2 separate regions of the Homo sapiens genome follow, and region 2 is linked to region 1. Evidence: promoter capture Hi-C in 16 types of primary human blood cells and fetal thymus (Javierre and others, 2016). All regions are on one chromosome and are shown on one strand. Each heading gives the region's core, a stretch centred on a gene start or on the middle of the fragment in contact. The rest is flanking DNA. Distances are from core to core; before and after follow the strand shown.

Region 1 (5,663 bases), core at 952-3,451:
TGTAATGGAACTGACATTTGGCCTTGATACCTGTATCTCTTGGTGATTACAACAAATTTCTAAAATAAATATTGTACTTTGATCTCCCAGCATTGCATTTTTAATGGACGCTCTCAACATTACTTCATTAAGAACTTTTTCCAGGAGCTCCGAGGGCCAAGGGGGTTGGGGGAGACTAAACAGCTATTCAGCAAAGCCTCTCTCCAAACTTCAGCTGGGGCCTGGGAGGACCGGAATCTGGACGGGTTTTCACAAACGGAGATGAGGCCGAGAGCAGCCAACTGCGACCACTCAAGAGAGGGCCTTCTGTACGCTCAGCACCGTCCTAAAGACCTTGCGTATATTAACTCTTAAACCTATAGCCACTCTACAAGGGGTGCACTATTGTAACTCCCATTTTACAAACCGCAAAACTGAGGTACACAGCGGCTGAGTACCTTGCTTGCCAAGGTCACCAACTAGAAAGTGGCAAGGCGGGAAAAATGTCTTCAGAGAGTTCGGACTCCGAGCTTTCAACCACCAAGCCACTAACTTTGACCCTGTTGGCCCACTGATGGTTTAACTGGCTAATGGGGGCATCTTGGAGAAAAAGCTAATTCCCATAACTATGGGGATGTGAAATGGCTTTTCTGGCCTTTTTGGGAAAGTAGCTATCAGATTCAATAAAAAGGGCTGCCTTCCATCCTGCTTAGCCCGGCCCTGCCCGCCTCCCTGGGAAAGGGGACTTCGAAGATCTCAAAGAAGCTGGAAAGGAAACCAGCGCTAAGGAACCAGATCGCTTCGAGGGTGCAAGCATGTGCAGGCGCGAGTGTGTGCCAAGGGGCTCCCTGGCCTCCGACTTGCATCCAGGGAAGAGCTCCCTCGAGTCTCACGCTTCTCCAAGACTCAAATCCTGGACGGGAGCGTGGGAAGGAGCAGGTTGGCCAGGCCTCGGATGAAACCACTAAGCTCTCTCCCCTTCTCCGCTCCCAGAGCAGCCGACCTCATCTTCAGAAGCCAGATCGGGTCGGCCAAGTTGTGTGGTCGCCGCTCGCGTTTTAGAGGGGACAACTCGTTGGGGGAGAAGGGGGCGTGCGAGTGCAGGATGTGCGAGGGACCCATTGTATTTGGGTCGCAAGCAGCCCACCCGTCTTGAGTACGATATTCTCATTCCGCAGGCGCGCCCTGGGCGTGGGAGAAGGTGGGCCCGGAGGCATCGCATCCCCGACCCCTGATGGAAGTGCGGAGGGCATCCTTATACAGTCCAGATTCCGAGTCCGTTGTAGTTAGGCTAACCTCTGACGCTGCATCGGGAGATAGGTCACCCCGTCCGTCCCGGTCGCAGTGCGGTTCCCGTGAGGAAGACGGGCAGAGAGGCCGGGCGCGAACTGATTAGGGGCTCCCCCACGGCCGGCGGCCTGGAGAGTGGAGACTGTGTCCGACGGGAGGTGGGTGGGGGAGAGGAGTAGGCCGAGCTCCGGCGGCCACTCCGCAGTGCGCTCTCGCGAGCCGGGGCCGCGAGGCCTCCAACGCGGTTCCGCACCCCTAATGCCCCAGGGCGGTGAGCACCCCGCGGTTCCCCGCCCGCCTCTTCCTCCTTCCCCGCCCGCGCGCCCGGGAGAGGCGATCCCCGCGTCCGCAGTGCCGGGGCAGGACGCGCCCTGCGCCCTGGGCCAGGAGGAGGCAGGTGGCCCTCCTCGGCAGGAGGTGAGCCGCCAGGGAGGGATGGGGGTCACCCAAGCCCCTGCAAGCGCGACCCTGCCCAGAGCAAAGCACGCCCCGCGCCTGGTGAGGAACTTTTTCTTTCCAAAGGTGGCAGGAACAAGTCTGTACTGACTTTTCTCCCGCCTTCGGGATCCTCTCTCGTATGATTTGTGGTTTGTGGGACCACAACAACCAGGCTTCCTCGACCGCGCCTTTTTTCCAGTAGCTCCTGGTCTGCCAGGCTTGCGAGAGGGCGCGCTGGCTTGGCGGGGCTCCGGGCGAGAAATCACCAGCAGCGCTGGGGCTTTCGGCCCCCCACAGCCCAGCCCGGGCCTCCTGGGTGGCCTGGGGAGAAGGGGGCGGGACAGCACAGCTTCTTCCCCTCGGGTGGGCATGACGGGTCGCCTTGGGTGTCCTGCCGAGCTCAGCTTTGAGGGTATGCGCGGCGCGGGTGTTTTTCCCAGGTCCACTCTGCAAAAGTTGTGGCCTGAGGAAAACTTCCAGGTCGCCAGCAGGAACGTCACAGGAGAGCCCCGGTCGCTCGTCAGGCGGGCGGCCCTGGAGCGTGCGCGCCACCCAACGCCGCGCTGGGCGGCCGCCCGGCCCCGCCCCAGGTCACAGCCCTGCCCTCGGCCCCACCGCGGCGGGCGGGGGACACGCGGCGGGCCGGGCGCTGTCGGTCCCACGCCCCACCGGGGATCTCGCTTGGGTCCGCTGTGTGCGCGGGCGGGTGCGTGTGCGGCGAGGGTGCAGGGTGTGCAAGTAAATACAGGGGAGAGTTACACTCTTTGCCGTCTCAAAGTCCGGCGCCTGGAAGCCGAAGGCAGATTTTTCCAGAGATAACAAAGACACTTTGTCACTTTGGGCGCTGCGTCGGTGCAAATCTTTAATTGCAAGTGTGTGTGTGTGTGTGTGTGTGTATGTTGGGGGGGGCGGGAAGAGTGTCTCGAGCAACCCAAGCGCGGGTCTCCAGGCGGCAAGGCCCCCTTTGATCAGGAAAATCCAATTATTTGTGTATATACATTTCCCACATAGTGATTACTTCATTAATTGTCCCGCCTTTATCTCCTCCCTTCCCATCCCCCCTAATAATCAGTTCTTTTATCCAGACCAACAAACACACCATAGGAGCTTTGTGGATTCAAAGGATTTGCTTTCGCTTCTGAAAGAGCCGCTATTCTTTGATGATTGGGTAGCGGCAAACTTCAAAGCCATAAATCTTCCCTCTGACTGGCTGGCGGCCCAGCAAAGTCCTTATCAAATTCTTGGAGGTGATCCTGAAGCGCTCAGACCGCGCGCGGGGCGAGCGAGCGGGGCGCGGCGAGGGGCAAGGGCGGGGAGGGCCCCGGCGCTCAGAGCAGGCGCCAGGGAGGCAGGCTGGGCGGCCCTTCGTCCTCGCCTTCGGGTGTCCATGCCTCGGCGGCGGCGTCCCGCTCCGCAGCCAGGGGCCTGCAAGCCGTAGCCATGGCCGCGGTGGCCGTCCTCCGGAACGACTCGCTGCAGGCCTTTCTCCAGGTCAGGGCCGAGCCCGGAGGGGGCGGGAGAAAGGTGGAAAGGGCCGTGTCCGGATCTCTCCTGGTACTCCGTGCACCTTGAACCTCAAAGGGAACCCCGCCGATGGGTGCAGCTGGAGCCAGGCCTAGGGGTGCCCACGCCAACTTCACACCTAATCCGGTGTGGCCTTTGCTGGAGGGACGCGTGGATCCGGGATTGTTCGGAGGTGCCCGGCTGGCCGAGAACAGGACCGGAGCTCACCCTGCTGGGCCCTCCTGCTGATTTCAGCCTGGGGCGGGCCAGGGAGGAGCGCGAAGGCAGTGAGGACAAGAGAGCTTAAAAGATGGGAGGGAGAGCGGCCGGCCGGCGGGGTTGTGGGTGTTTCCCGACTCTTACTGACCACGGAGCCGGGAGGGGCCCGTCGGATGCCTCCCCCTCCCACTTCGCGCCTGCTTCCTCTAAGGCTGGATGGCGTCTCAGTGCACCAAGTAGTTTAGCAAGAAGCGCTCGCGGGCCCCACGTTCAGGTAGCGCAGGCACCAAAAGTTTCCCTCGGCCGGTGGGTGCGTGCGTGGGGTGCGGTGGCGGGGGAGGGACGGCCGGGACGGAGGAGGGGCGGCGGTATAATAGCGGGCGTGGGGGCGGCGGGCTGGCCCGGAGTCCGCGCTTGGAGCTAACCTTTTGTCTCTTCTCCGCCCTCCCTCGCCGCCTATGCAGGACCGCACCCCCAGCGCCTCCCCGGACCTGGGCAAGCACTCGCCCCTGGCATTGCTGGCCGCCACCTGTAGCCGCATCGGCCAGCCGGGCGCGGCGGCGCCCCCGGACTTCCTGCAGGTGCCCTACGACCCCGCGCTGGGCTCACCCTCCAGGCTCTTCCACCCGTGGACCGCCGACATGCCGGCGCACTCGCCAGGCGCACTGCCGCCCCCGCATCCCAGCTTGGGGCTGACGCCGCAGAAGACGCACCTGCAGCCGTCCTTCGGGGCTGCGCACGAGCTTCCCCTTACACCCCCCGCCGACCCCTCGTACCCCTACGAGTTCTCGCCGGTCAAGATGCTGCCCTCGAGCATGGCGGCTCTGCCCGCCAGCTGCGCGCCCGCCTACGTGCCCTACGCGGCGCAGGCCGCGCTGCCGCCAGGCTACTCCAACCTGCTGCCTCCGCCGCCGCCACCGCCCCCGCCGCCCACCTGCCGCCAGTTGTCACCCAACCCGGCCCCCGACGACCTCCCGTGGTGGAGCATCCCGCAGGCGGGCGCCGGGCCGGGGGCCTCCGGGGTTCCGGGAAGCGGCCTCTCCGGCGCCTGTGCCGGGGCCCCCCACGCGCCCCGCTTCCCCGCCTCTGCGGCCGCTGCTGCTGCGGCCGCCGCCGCCCTACAAAGAGGCCTGGTGTTGGGCCCGTCGGACTTTGCGCAGTACCAGAGCCAGATCGCCGCGCTGCTGCAGACCAAGGCCCCCCTGGCGGCCACGGCCAGGAGGTGCCGCCGCTGCCGCTGTCCCAACTGCCAGGCGGCGGGCGGCGCCCCCGAGGCGGAGCCGGGGAAGAAGAAGCAGCACGTGTGCCACGTGCCGGGCTGCGGCAAGGTGTACGGGAAGACGTCGCACCTGAAGGCGCACCTGCGCTGGCACACGGGCGAGCGACCCTTCGTGTGCAACTGGCTCTTCTGCGGGAAGAGCTTCACGCGCTCGGACGAGCTGCAGCGGCACCTGCGGACTCACACGGGCGAGAAGCGCTTTGCCTGTCCCGAGTGCGGCAAGCGCTTCATGCGCAGCGACCACCTCGCGAAGCACGTCAAGACTCACCAGAATAAGAAGCTCAAAGTCGCTGAGGCCGGGGTTAAGCGGGAGGACGCGCGGGACCTGTGAGCCCTCCCGGAGGTGGACCCCCTTCCCAGCACCTCTGCGAGAGATCCGGGGACCTGTGGGCAGCTGGCGGAGGGGAGACTCAGCAGACGGACCCTCTCCGTTGCCTGCCTCCCAAAATGGAGCCAGGCTTCCAACTTCCGCTGCCTTCGGACATAGGGACCCAGTTCCCAGGAGCGGGGAGGTAGGGTTGGGGCTGGGGCATTTGGATTGTAATTGGGAGCTCTGCCGTACGCCAGGGCGGTTCCAAACTCTAAACCGTTCCCACCGTCAGGGAGACCTACAGTTTCGGGGGACCACCCTGGTCTGGCCTTGTATATAGGAAATGCTGCTGAACTGAATAGAAAGGAACTTGGGAGATTTGAAACAGTGCTCGGGTTTTCGCTAGGACCGGTTTGGGCTTTGTACAGGTTATTTAATAGCTTTGTTAAAGATAATTATAATAATTATAACATTAATAAAAATGTTGCTTTTGTCTTCAGCTCCATGCAGAGCTACAGCATGATATGTCTCTGTAAAGTGATCAGCAGTTGCAGCGTGAAAATAAATACTTTAACTCAGGGGTCACTACAGGAAGACCCCGTTGAGCCGGTCTCATTTGATCTTTTCTTCTTCTGGGTGGCTGTA
Region 2 (5,663 bases), core at 1,944-4,443, 5.4 Mb after region 1:
TGGGCGGAGGAGGAAGGGAACCGGGTCGCGCGTCCCCCTGCGACAGCTCTGAAGGCTCGAGTCCCTGCAGAGCGTGGACACCAGCCGTCTTCTCCCGCCCACGGCGTTACACCCGTCTCGGCTGCTCCGAAGAGACCCCTCGCTGCCATCGCAGAAAGGCTGGGCCAACCCTGAGGGCCCTCTCGCCTGGCCGTCCCTCCTCGGGTGCGAAATTAGGGGAGGAGGGTGTCGGGGTGTGCATCTCCAGGCTGCGGAGCTCCCGGGCATGAAAGCCAGGGCCGAACCCGAGAAAGCAGAAGTGCACGAGTTCGAAGTGGCCACTCGGCCAGCACTCCACAGAGCTGACCCATCCAAAGAGGGGAAAGACCTGCCTGGGAGAGACCCTAAAATGAGGTCGGGGTTGGGGGATAGGCCACCTCACCCCTGACCGCCTCTTCCGCCCGGACTGCAGTCACCCGAATAGCCTTCTGCCTGCCCAAGAGGAGCAGAATTGCTCAGGAACCCGGACTAGGGTCCTTCCTACCTACACAAATGCAGATCTACCTCCGTGGGTGCCCCATTATGGAACTGCAGTGTCACCCACACACCTCTCTTTGAAGGGAAGCCTTCTGGGGCAGCTTAGCGGAGTAGCTGAGAGCGTGAAACTCATGATCTGGGCAGTGCAATATTCAACTCTGGGAAAAGTGTTCATCCCACAGCCCAGTTTACCCCTCTGTAAAATGGGGATAATGATGGAAACTATTTCGTATGAGTGTGGTGAAAATTAAATGAGTTAATGTATGCTCTTGGCAGTACGTGGCATATGGAAAGTGCCAAAGTTTTATTTAACTGCCCTATTTTCACCAAGATTTTTTAAAATGGGGCAGAGGAATAGAAGGAGGTCCCAGAAAAACTCATTTTAATCCCTCCTGCCCTTCCGCAAAGCCTTCTGCCGTGGCCTCTGACTTTTTTATTTTTACTTTTCTCCAGAGAGAACTTAAGTTAGGCCTCATGAACAGGGAGGGCAAACCAGGCCTGCTTGGGGGTCGGGGTCGGGGTCGGGATTGGGGTGGGGTTGCAGATGAGATATCTGAGGCCAAGCCCTGCCCTCCTGTAGCTTCCACTCCAGAGTTGAACCTGGGCTAACTCTTCTCCCACACAAAGTTGTCAAACCGAGCAGGATATCCGCAGAGATTCGCCAACCGTCTTGGCATGAAGGTGGAAACAACGGGTCACCGCCGCCCTGAATCAGCTCCTGCCAAAGGGCTCATTAAATCCCCCTCCAGAGCCCCCATCCCAGGACTAAGTAAGTCATTTGCTGGTCTGGCTTGGATGAACCAAGGATCGCAGGAGGCTGCCTGTGTGCCTACCCGTCCCCCCGCCCGAGTCCCCTAGTGGGCGAACGCTGGGCCGGGCACGGTATCTCCCTGGCGAGCACAGCCTGAACCCAAGGCTGGTTTTGAGGTGGCAGTTAATTACTAGCCCGGAAAGCCGAAGCCCCGGAGCCGATGTCTGGGCTGACAGGGTTCCCTCCTCAGCCTCGGGGCAGTCAGACGATTCCTAACAACTTCTCCCAAGGAGGTAGATCCCTGTTTATCAACCAGCACACCCCGTCGGCCCTTTTCTTTGGTAAACACTCTTTAAACAAACAGCCCATCCGCCCTGTTATTGCCAAAGCTGCTCAGAGCTTTAATAAAAGCCCAGGGAAGATCAGAACCCGCGTCCAAGGCTGCTGCTTAATCCAATGAAGGCAATTTCCGAGGATAATTGCGAACATGTTTTAATGCATATGCATGAAAAAGGATTTTTTTTCTGAGAGACCAACTTTACATGCTTATGTAATTGATTGAGGCGCTGACCCGCTATTCAAAATGTTATTTGAGAACCATCACAATGCGTAAACTTGCAAATTGCCCAGCTTGTATCTGAATTAATACCTCATTCATCATCATTATGGGTTGATAAGTTAATTTAACCATTTCATTCTGCCTTAATGAGCTATAGTTAAATTAATGCCACATAATATATGAAAGTAACATTTAAATAGAAGCACTGGGCTGAGACAAGCCGAGGCTGCTGCTATTTGGGCTGAAATAAGGTGACATAAATCTTTTCTTCATTACAGGACCCAGTCTGCTCTACCAGCAGTTATGAAGTATTTATTCATTCACTTTCTTTTGCGAAGTTGCTTTGCCAAATAGCATAGGTAAATTATGTGAGCTTGTAAATAATGCCTGAGGATGTATTTATTAAAATAAGATTGGGGTGGAGGTGGGAGAATCTATAAAAAGCATTTTCACAGCATGCTTTCCCATCGCTCCAGGAAAACCAAGACCCCCACTGCCAGCCCTCCCCAACTTGGCTGGGAATACCACAGGGTCTGGAGGTCACTGGTTTTACTCCAAAGTGCCTGCTCTGAGTTCAAACCTCAGAAACACCAGCCTGCCCCTTTTCTCGTTTGCAGACTGGACTATCCTCCCAACCCACCCCCGCCACCACCCCTCCTCCCCTGGGTTTCCGTCACAGGCAGAGACACCTTGATTCTGGTTTTCCTAAGTCAGGGATGATGAGCTTAGTTGTGGATACTTTGCAAATTGGTGTAAAGGAAGCTGGAAGAGAGGGTGACCCTTCCCACCTCAGAAGTGGTTCAGGAAGCTTCCATGAGATTCTTTGGACCCAGACCTTAGGTCAGAGAAGCTGAGGTGAGAGTGGCTCCAAAGAAAGAGAAGGGATCAGGCCAAAAGGTCACTGAAGAAAGGGGAGGTGCCCCCAGGAGCCATAACCCCCTACATTTCTCCCTCTCTACTCCCAAGCCAGTCTTTTATTGGGATAAGTTATTTAAACTCAAGGGGAGTCTCTCCATCTGAGAGGGGGTGAGACAGGGCAGGCTTCGTGGGTGGGGATCTTTGTAGTCACACAGGGTGATGGGCTTAAAAGCCACCCCCCAGCTTGATTTGATGTTCTGTTGTTGCCCTCTTGAAATTCCTAATAACTTTTGAACAAGGGGCCCACATGTTCATTTTGCACTGGGACCAAAAATTGTGCAGCCAGTCCTAGGTGGAAAAAGAGGAAAGGAAAAGAGACTGACTTCTCATGACCACTGCAGGGCTCTATGTCCCCTTCTTTGGTTCCTTATGAGAGGAAACTCAGAATGCTACTTGAAAGTAGATCCCCACTTCTGATCAAATCATGGCTCATAACATTAACAGACAAATTATAGCGTGAGCCCTACGCTGCTCTCCAGGGTCTCCAGGTGTAGGCCTTTGATGACTGGGGTTTGGGAGAGCTGCCAATAAAGGTTCAGCCTAAAACCAAAATGCACTCCAGCTTCTGACCTGATCGGCCTAGGAAAAACGCTCAGGGCCTTGGCAAAGGAAAAGGTCACTTTCCTTCCTCAGAAAGCCCAGGAAAGGGACTCAAGTTTTAGCGGGAGGGAGAGTTATAAGTCTTCCTTTAGCGGATTCAGGATGGGTAGGATTGAAAGGACACCTTTCCTGGAATCCATAGCAGACTGAAGAATTTTGAGTTTGGAGCTGTGTGTAAGTAAGTAGATTTTTACAAAGGTAAATTTCTTTGCTTGTTCTTTTTGCACCTAAAAATCCAGGACACCGGAGCATTATGGGAAGAAAAAGAAATACAATTTATGGAAGAGAAGTAACAAGAGGAAAACCCTTACCATATATTTAGTCTTCATAACTTATTTAATTGCAGAGGGTAGCGATTGTTTCATCAAATGTTTCATATTTCTGAGTTTGGAGGGCGGGGATGCCAGGGTAAGCTTCCTCCGAGCGACTAAGGAGCAGCAACAAGCTCTGGAATTTCCTCTCGGGGTGGTCCGTTCCACCTTAAATAACTTGGGCTTTTTGGTCCCAAACGCGCCCTGTAGTTCAGGTTTTTTTGTCCTCCCTGCAGCAGCTGTCACCCTGCATTACTCGCAGTCAGCTAAATGAAACATTATTCTAAACATATGCATCGTAATCAGTTCGGTCACACTTACAAGAACACGCGTTAATAAGGCAATCAATCACCCTGGAACAAGCAAGTTGTTCTGTAACAGCTCATAAACAGTGTGTAATGAAGAATTGGAGGTTACCGTGACATGCGTTGATCAGATAATCAATGTCAAAGATGCGATGAATGTCAGTAAATGTAGTTTTCATGTCGTTTCTATAAAATCTTCAATTTACAACAAGCAGTTCAATTACCCAGAAAATACAGTCAATTAAATAGGGGTGATTGGACAGTAGGGGGGTGGATCATCGATCTTTGCATTTCTATCTCGCTAGTGGACATTTAATTTGGTTTTTCCATTAGCGACGAAATAAAGAAAATATAAAATATATTAAACAACCTACAGATTTATTTTCTTGTCAAAAACAATTCGGGCTTGATGACAGACAGTCTTCTGCATTTTATGATGAATTATTTTTTCATTCTTTGCACACTCGAGACAAAAAAAATGCTGTTATTTTGGACAGGGTTTTTTGGCCACTGTCTTTTTCCGTTTGCTGGCCCATCTATCTCAATGCTTTTGTTTTTAAGGGTTACAACCCCCGAGTTAGCAAAGAGCACCGAAAACCAGGGTGATACATCACCAGTCCAAATGTGCTGCTATAATCGTATTTCTTTAATGGGGGAGTTCAAGAAAAGAGAGAAGGGGAAAGAGAGAAAAGAATTTATCGAGGGGGAGGGAACCCTTGGGATTACTTCAGTATATATTTAACCAACCTGCAATTAAAGACGGTATCAGCTTGTATCATTTAGAGCTAATGCAATAATAATGGTAAATTACAGGCCAAAATGGCTTGTGATCGCAGCCTCTGTATTCCCAGTAGTGTCCTCATCGTTGTAATTAATGCCAGGGTGAGCAGTTGGAAAAAGAAAATTTCGAGGAAGGGACATCTTGGTTTTTAAATCGAATAGACTGCTTTGCACACACCATTGACTCTTGCATTTTGCCATCGAAATATCGATTTTAAGACAGATCTGTAAATACACGAAGAGGTGGACTGAACTCGGGAAAGAAGATAGGATTGGGAAAGAAAAACAGGGCTGAAGTACCAAAGCAAAAGAAAGAAGGAAGAGGGGAAATCATATTTTTAAATATCCAGTTGCTTGAAATACTCATAGCCAATTTGGTAAAATGTTCACAGCATCCTTTATCCTCAGCAAACAGAAACACTACTTAAGTTTGAAGAATGTGCTGTACACCCCTAAAAGAGACCAAAGGAGATGGAACTAGTAAGGGAGGGCTGAGCTTGAAGAGGGCTGAGCTCCTATTAAGAGTGAACTTTTTCCTTGAATTAAATATTAATATTTACTTCATAAGTGGGAGAATAAAAGTGGGCAAGTTAATTAGATAGAGGAATTAATTTTGTTTACCTTTGTAGTACTGCAAACATAAACAGCTCCTAACCCTGTGTACACACTCCCTATATATATGACGGCACGTCCTCTACCATGTGTATCGACACACACACTACTCCTAAACACTCTTATCTGTTTAGCCAGCCAATTAACGTTAAACCAATGTTTGGAAGAGTGCATGTCTCCTATAAACATGAGTAATGTATTTGCCATAAAAATAATGATTAGAATGAATTAATCCATCTGATATGTGTATTATATGGATTTAAACATGTTGTTTTAAGAGATTCTCATAACCCTGGATGCCACAGTTAAAA

Evidence for each region. The method cuts DNA at HindIII sites, captures the fragments that hold promoters and counts their contacts. A CHiCAGO score of 5 or more calls a contact.
Region 2: a contact is called between a fragment that was not itself captured here and the fragment with the promoter of LINC01124 in region 1, in 1 of 17 cell types (total B cells). The highest score is 11.1, in total B cells.

What each region holds. Positions count from the first base shown.
Region 1 is chr2:170,712,366-170,718,028 of GRCh38, forward strand. LINC01124 (long intergenic non-protein coding RNA 1124) reads right to left here and starts at 2,202. Exons shown (of 1, transcript NR_027433.1): 1 at 74-2,202. SP5 (Sp5 transcription factor) reads left to right here and starts at 2,972. Exons shown (of 2, transcript NM_001003845.3): 1 at 2,972-3,198; 2 at 3,894-5,663. The coding sequence starts at 3,148. The coding sequence ends at 5,039. All of the region lies in intron 5 of ERICH2-DT (ERICH2 divergent transcript), which reads right to left. RefSeq lists a silencer at 2,289-2,338 and enhancers at 2,556-3,345, 3,346-4,133, 4,134-4,923. The HindIII fragment of the contact is 7,273 bases long and covers 1-5,663 here.
Region 2 is chr2:176,071,758-176,077,420 of GRCh38, forward strand. No RefSeq gene overlaps it. Among named protein-coding and RNA genes, the nearest start is that of EVX2, 9.4 kb to the right of the region's middle. RefSeq lists enhancers at 913-1,413, 3,585-4,925. The HindIII fragment of the contact is 1,123 bases long and covers 2,633-3,755 here.